3 separate regions of the Homo sapiens genome follow, and all the other regions are linked to region 1. The links are contacts of gene promoters, found by promoter capture Hi-C in blood cells and fetal thymus (Javierre and others, 2016). All regions are on one chromosome and are shown on one strand. The core of a region is centred on a gene start or on the middle of the fragment in contact, and the rest is flanking DNA. Distances in the headings are between cores, read along the strand shown. Region 1 holds the start of AMBN (ameloblastin). Region 2 overlaps SLC4A4 (solute carrier family 4 member 4). Region 3 overlaps SLC4A4 (solute carrier family 4 member 4).

Region 1 (2,505 bases), core at 3-2,502:
AACAGAAGAAGGAACTGGGGCTCAAAAGAGATTAAGGGACTGCATCAAGCACCAGAGACAGCATGAAAAATAATACTTTTCATTTCAATAACATTTTGCTGTTTGCAAAACACATTCACATTCTTCATTTCTTTGCATCCTAAAGATAATTCTGGTATCAGTGGAACACAGAGGTTTTCAGGAGCAGCTTCTAAGATAACATTATTTGAAGCTGTTAGGCCTACATTTGGGTATGGATACAGCTTTCTCTCAAAATACCAGCTTCCTCAATGTTCCCTGTAATTGACAAGATCCCTACTTCCCTAAAGAGTGTACTGACTCATCCCTTCTTCAGAACTAATCTTAAATGCTTATCCCTACCATATCTGAAATCACAACTTTGGAAAGACAAGGATGGGCAGAGAAGTAACAAAAGCAGCTAATATTCAATCCACATCCAAGATATTATCTGTTCACGGAGAAAAACCAATCTGTGTTGACGTTAACCTTTTAAGTGATCGAAATATGTCTTATTAACCTGGCTTGATACTAATGCCTGGGAATGTGTCTATCTGAAGAGTGAACTGACACTTGTGCCCATTGATTTGGTTCATAGAGAATGTTCTGATTTACGTCCCCGTCCCCACAGATTTTTTTTAAAATGCACCAAACGTTTACCTGAAGTAAACCTGATTCTTGCAAAGGGTCCAACTGTAGTTTCTTACAAAAGCTTGGCTATCTCTAATCAATTATCTCCAGATATGAAAATATCTAGGAAATTCAAGGAAGAAATCACACACATTAATTTTCCATCTAACATTTTAGTGTTTTCTTTTAAACTCTGTGTGTGCTGGGGGGAAGGACAGTAGTCTCTTTTACTACAACAAACAGGAGGGTGAAAACCTGAAGAATGCTAGCATTGGGTCACTAGCTTTATCTGCAGATAAAACCTGCACAAAACAGGTTTTGTTTTGCACCTATTTTACATATATTTTCCCCAGCTCACCAAAATAATTGTCTTCAGAGCCTATGTCCATTATTCCTTTACTGCCTTCCCTGCTATCAAGTTCTCTGAATAAGTACAGGGGCTGCAGTACAATTAAAAATAATGAGACCCTACTGGGCCAATGTCCCTGCACGCAATAAAAGGGTGTGGACTAATTGCAGGAGCAGAGATTCCCGCCCCAACTCCCCCCCGCCACCCCTCGCCATTTTGCTTCACTTTGATTGGTGGATTGGCACTTTAAATAAAGGTTTCTAATCTTCCCTGAATGAGAAGTACAGAGCAAGTCCCACGCACAGTCCTGAAAAAAATTTTAATCTTCTTTTCTTAGAACTATCTTGGTTGGCATCATCAGGCCCTGAGAGCACAGTGCATGTCAGCATCTAAGGTAAAATGGGATTTTATGATTTCCATGTGTTTCCTGTAAATTCTTTTTTTCCTATCTCCTGACAGCTTTTATAAAGAGGATTTATCTTCATTTGTCACCAGTAGCTGAATTATTGCTTGTTGTAATCCATTAGCATGTCCCAGAGATGACATGCCTAACACCCATTCAACTAAGAAAAAAAAAAAGACTTTTATTTATAGATTGTGTTTTTTTTAATGTTTTTGATTATAGTGCCTAATTCTTTTTAATATTAGAAGATGAGTAAATTTCTAGGCTATTCAGATCTCTATTCATGTAAGAATAAAGAGCTTTTTGAATTTATAGAATAAATTTTAAAAGATAATTCATTTTAGGAAGAGGAAAGCTAAATTTGAGACATATTTTCCACTAACATCAAAGAAAATTAAGATAGCCAATTTACTCTCATTTGAAAAGAAAAATTTTGTCATGGTTACGTAGATTACCTAAACATGCAATGATGTACCCTCTATTCCTGCAAATAAAGGTTTGTTATAAAATGACTTAGTTGCATTACATTTCACATGCATTTCAAAATGTGTCCCAAAGGGTAAGCAAAGTATAAACTTCTGTGAATAATACCTTATAGACCAATATTTTACTTAGTGGGAAGGATTTTTAAACTCATAATTCACTTTATGAAATGAAATATATCACAAAGAATATCGATGGAGGTTGTTCCTACATACTTATTTAGGCTGTAGATCCATTTAAAACGTGCTTAGATATTTTTTAATTGCTTGTTAATTTATTTCAGAAACTACTACATACAAATCGGTTGTTTAGTAACATTTAGTTTTTGTTTTTGTTCTTCTAACCTTTATCCCGGTGGTTTTTGTAAGAGCAGAGACTCAGGCTCATTTTCAAAAATTGTCTTTTAACCATTCTGAATAAAAATTCATCTGATTTAATTCTCCAACTTAATTATGTTTTAGATTCCACTTTTCAAAATGAAGGACCTGATACTGATCCTATGCCTCCTGGAAATGAGTTTTGCAGTGCCGGTAAGTCAGTCTTTAGAGTGTGTCCCAGAAAAGGTTATTGATTGTCGAACTCCAAACAACACTGAAGGGATATGGACTGAGAGTCCACGCATAGACTCACTTGATTTAATCCA
Region 2 (2,505 bases), core at 4-2,503, 970 kb after region 1:
TTAAAATTTGTTTTATCAGAGAGTAGGATTGCAACCACTGCTTTTTTTTTTCTTTCCATTTGCTTGGTAAATATTTCTCCATCCCTTTATTTTGAGCCTATGTGTGTCTTTGCATGTGAGATGGGTCTCCTGAATACAGCACACCGATGGGTCTTGATTCTATCCAATTTGCCAGTCTGTGTCTTTTAATTGGGGCATTTAGCCCCTTTACATTTAAGATTAATATTGTTTATGTGTGGCATCTTTATTTTTTTTTCTTTTTTGCTCGTTGAATGCATTATCTTAGTTCTCTAAAAGGATACTGTTGTTCATTAACCTCTTTAGAGTCATAAATAAAGGAATTTTCCATGTAGGTAATAGGCTTTATGTTAAGATTTTATTAACATTAATTCTCATTTTATTTTCAACTAAAAACCATCTTTTTGGTACTTTTAATTAAGAGATATATTGGGTCTTTCAGCCCAAACATAGACTTGGAATCAATATAATGCATTTAAAAAAAACAAAGTGGTAATCTTTGGGAAATCTATTATAATTTGGGCTAGGTGGCTTGTTCTTTAAGCAGTCCCATGATTAGCTGCCTGGTTTTGTCATTTCCATTATGATTCTCTGCTTATCTGACCATCATAGACACCTTTTTAAACATTTTATTTTCTTATGTTTTGCTTACATTTTCAGATATCTTTGGCACAAGCTAATTGAAATGAACCTTTATCCATAAAATAGTACTTAAAGTAAGAGAGGAAAGTTTATTTTCTAGTGTACATAGAAGGCTTCTTGATAGTGGATATATAAAAAGTCTGTCACTTGTTCTAGAAGGAAAGATCGGTCATGATTTTATCTAGAGACGGAATCAGCATAAACAAAACAAGAATTTCAAGACCGTATTATAACCTGGGAAGTTTCCTATGTTTAATCTGTTTTTGCATTGAGATCATTTGCTTCACACATACAACTCATAAACATTGCTGATTGGGAGTCTGATAGAAAGCTTTACAATTCAGTTGTAGATCGATCTCTATTTTGTGCAGTTATAGTTTTAATTGACTCAATACCATTAACTTAGAAGAGTGGAAAACAAATGTGAGGGGGAAAGAAGGAATGCAGTTAAAAGATGGCAAACTGGAAGTAATTATAAGGCTTTTCTCCTTAGTAGTATGTAAATGATTATAGAAAACGGTTTGATCGATGCTAGGAGATAGGAAGGGCTGTATAATAAAAACATTCTAAAACCTCTTGTACATTTTTTTCACAGTCTGACTGCCCATACTCAGAAAAAGTTCCAAGTATTAAAATTCCAATGGACATCATGGAACAGCAACCTTTCCTAAGCGATAGCAAACCTTCTGACAGTGAGTAGAACTAACCTCTTGCATGCTTGCTTGAATATGATTTGCACTTACAGAGAAAACACTTTAGAATGGCCATCTGCATTAACTTTCCCTCAATTTTGTTTTTCCTTTTTCTATGAGAAGATTTACACTTAATTATAATAAAACTTTGTTTTTACATACCCTAAGCTTCATTCTTCCTTTTATCCATAAACTTTTAAATTTTTATTTGGTAGTCTTTTCTCTTACCCAAATCATCCCCAGTTTTTCCAATGGCTAAATTAATAACCATGTTTTTAATTGATTTTTCTTTTTTTTTCTGTTGGTATTGAGAATTGCAGCTTATAATACTACATCACTGTCACTGTTTGTCTTCCTTAGGTTTTAACTAGTGATCAAATCAGCTCAAAAGAGAAATTGCATCATTGGTCTCTCAGTGATCAATAAATCAATTGTTAATATTGAGAATTTGGAAAAATTTAATTTTGATTAAATTAGCAATCATGAAGTATTAGTACAACTTTCTAGATATAACTTATATGCATTTGCTTTCTAATCTCTTCATTCTCCCTTTTGCTATTTCAAAATTATTATTATAACTGCACTGATCTTTCTAGGGTGATAGCCTGGTGACTACGGTGCAATGGTTTGTGACATTTTTCTCTTCTGTAATTGAATTAACAGGCCACTTAGTAATATTAGTGACCATTTCAGACTTTCCCAATAGCAGGTAGCAATTGCCATCAAGCTACTTTCTACTTTGCGTTCTCATTGAAGAAAATGCATCCTTTTAGATTCAGATGCACTTCAGAGTACACTGATCTGTTACAGAAAAAGACAGTTAAGACACTTTTATTTCTATTTTACCATGCCACCTCAACTACAATAAGAGGTTACTGCTATCAAGAAAAGTTTGGAATGAATATCTATTGATAAAAAATAATGGGTATATTAGTTATCAATCATTGAGTAACAAATTACAATAAAACTCAGCAGCTTAAAAGAACAAACATGTTTTCTTACACAATTCCTCACATTCAGGAATGCAGGGGCAGCTGATTTTGGTTCTGGCTCAGAGTCTCTCATGAGATTGCCGTCAGAGCTGTCAAGCTGTCAGCTGGGGCTGAGTCTCTGAAGACTATTTTTTTTTTTTCCAGGAAGAAATGAAAGGATG
Region 3 (2,505 bases), core at 2-2,501, 660 kb after region 1:
GAACAGAGACATATTTCTCCTGTGGGGTTTTATGAAGAGAACACTTCATACAAAGTTAAATGGTTATAATGTCCTTGGCTTCCTCAAACTGTGGTTTTTGCACCTGTACAATGGGGATAGGAGCAGGATTGCATGAGGAGGTAGATATAAAACACCTCGCAGTGCTTGGCATGCTTGTAAGTATTCACTAAATAGTTGCTATCATCTGTATGTACAGTAAACACAGCAACATGTTTCCCAGGAAGGAGCTAATAGATGTATCTTACATATAGAGGCATATGTTGTTAACCATCCACTCAGCTATAGAATTTGTAGTTTGGCTGATCTAAAACCCTTTTCTGGCTTGAAGGTTTTCATACTTCAAAGTGTTAAATCATCCTTGGTAGCAAAATGTGTATTTGTGAAAGCCACCTTAATTTGAATGGCTCCAGAGTTACTAAGTGTAAGTTTTTTGTTTGCCAGAAAACATTGTAGCAACTATGAGAAGTATGAAGTTAGGTTAGAAATATTTCAGGAATTGGGATAATTGGATGAGTTAACATCATAGTACTTCCTACTTGCAACTGGGGTGGAGCATGTAAGGATGGGAAGAAACAAGAATCACGTAGTGATCATTTCTGACATTCAGAGATACCCAGGAAAGCCATGTTTTCTTTCCAGTAGTACTGGCTGTGGTACGGATTGGGAGATATTCCCAAGATATTTAGAGTTTGTTGGGAACTTGCACCATCTGTCAGAGAAAGGCATGCAGGGTATTTATTTGAACACATGATACTGAAGCCACTGCCAAATCAAGGACTGAATGCTCTTTGACAGCACACCTAAATGAACACTGTCAAATGTAGATTCCAGTAGTTTTACTTCATGAAGTTTCAGTAGCAAGAATGTAACATTTATTTTGATAACATTTAAAACGATCACTTCTTCCTCATACATTATAGCTCTTAAAATTTTTTCCACTCCTCCTTTTTACATTATCTTTGGAAGCAGTATTTCCTGAGTTTTCTAGTGGAGAATTTTTTTTTAGCCTAAAAAGTTCTGTATAAGAAGCAGGTTAACTATCCCTGATTCTTTAATGGTCTTACTGTTTTGTAGTCCCTTGCTGGGTTGGAAAGCTTGTCTGTCAAGTTTCTCCTTTTCATATTACAGGGAAAACAATACTATATCCTCAGCTTTGTGACTCCCCTAAGAACTTGCAGTCATTTTATGAGTTATAATTTTAAAAATAGTCATCAGTCTTCATGACATATCCCTTAAACAGGTAAAGAGATTTTAATGAAAATAAATATTGAGATCCACATGTGATGTTCTCATCAATCATAGCATATTTTCAACAGTAATGATGCTTCTATTGATCATGATGACAGATATTCTGTGGGGGCAGTGAGAAAGCTTCCATTACAGCTCATTTTACTTTCGGTGTTTTGGTTACTTGGCACATATAGCTTATTAAGTATTTGATTGTCCCTTTGAGACAGCATGTCTGTATTACCCCATCCACCAAAGCAAGGCTATCTTGCTCTCTTCTTATAGGCAAGGAAGCTGAAGTGAGAGAGGCTGAGAAGTAACTGATGGAGCAGAAAGCACTGTCCCTGAGCCCCTCAAGGTTTGCTTAACCATGGAACTATGTTCCTTGTCCTCTACCTGAACACAAGACAGAAAAGGAAAATTTAGTTACCAATCACATGTGAGAGGAGGAGGATGCTTTAAGTTTTGAATTGCTCAGCTCAGTGGCTTGATTTCCTCTGGCAGTTGTTGGAAGGCAATATCTTCCTCATCCAGGGAATATTGTATTTTATTGTGCTGTAAGGATGTCTACAAAAAGTTCATTGCCATATGAGTACTAGAGAATGGTAGCTTCGCAGAGGCCATCACTAAGAGTTTTAAAACGTGGTCAAGAGTGGTTGCATTAGACAGGAGTGGGAACAGAGAGTGACTGCAAATGGATATGAGGGATCTTTTTGGATTGGTGGAAATGTTCTAAAATTGGATTATGATGATCGTTGCACAACTCTGTAAATATACTAAAATCATTGACTGTATCATTAAAATGAGTGGATTTTATTGTTTATAAATTACACCCCAGTAAAGGTGATTTTAAAATGCCTAAAATTTGGCATGTCTTGAGAGGAACAACATTTCTGCTTGACCTCTGGGCACCATAGCACTTCACAGTGCAGTGTCAATTCTGAACGCTCCCACACCTGTGTGGAAGTGCACAGGGAAAACCAAGAAGGAGGAGTTGGAGGAAATGGGGATAGACAGAATCTGTTGCTGAGAGGATGCCTATCATCACGATGTGAACAAAATGGCACCACTTATGTGATAATGACAACTCAAAGTAGGTTCCAAAAAGTCAAGTGCATTTCTCTCCAGGGTTTGATGGCTCACTCTCTGAACTGGCCTAACTCTTTCATTAGATTGACCATGATGACACTTCCTAGCCAGTAATCTTACCTTAGCATCTTATCCACCCATATAGACTGTCTATTAAATGATTTGATC

The links. Contacts are between HindIII fragments. The CHiCAGO score rates a contact against its expected background, and 5 or more counts as called.
Region 2: a fragment that was not itself captured here is called in contact with the fragment with the promoter of AMBN in region 1 in 1 of 17 cell types (fetal thymus); the score reaches 5.1 in fetal thymus.
Region 3: a contact is called between a fragment that was not itself captured here and the fragment with the promoter of AMBN in region 1, in 1 of 17 cell types (fetal thymus). The highest score is 5.3, in fetal thymus.

The regions. Positions count from the first base shown.
Region 1 is chr4:70,591,004-70,593,508 of GRCh38, forward strand. AMBN (ameloblastin) reads left to right here and starts at 1,253. Exons shown (of 13, transcript NM_016519.6): 1 at 1,253-1,370; 2 at 2,324-2,392. The coding sequence starts at 1,356. The HindIII fragment of the contact is 2,262 bases long and covers 708-2,505 here.
Region 2 is chr4:71,562,538-71,565,042 of GRCh38, forward strand. It overlaps SLC4A4 (solute carrier family 4 member 4), which reads left to right. Exons shown (of 26, transcript NM_001098484.3): 24 at 1,256-1,352. Among named protein-coding and RNA genes, the nearest start is that of GC, 220 kb to the right of the region's middle. The HindIII fragment of the contact is 529 bases long and covers 990-1,518 here.
Region 3 is chr4:71,250,826-71,253,330 of GRCh38, forward strand. The region is part of intron 2 of SLC4A4 (solute carrier family 4 member 4); the gene reads left to right. Among named protein-coding and RNA genes, the nearest start is that of SLC4A4, 65 kb to the left of the region's middle. The HindIII fragment of the contact is 277 bases long and covers 1,114-1,390 here.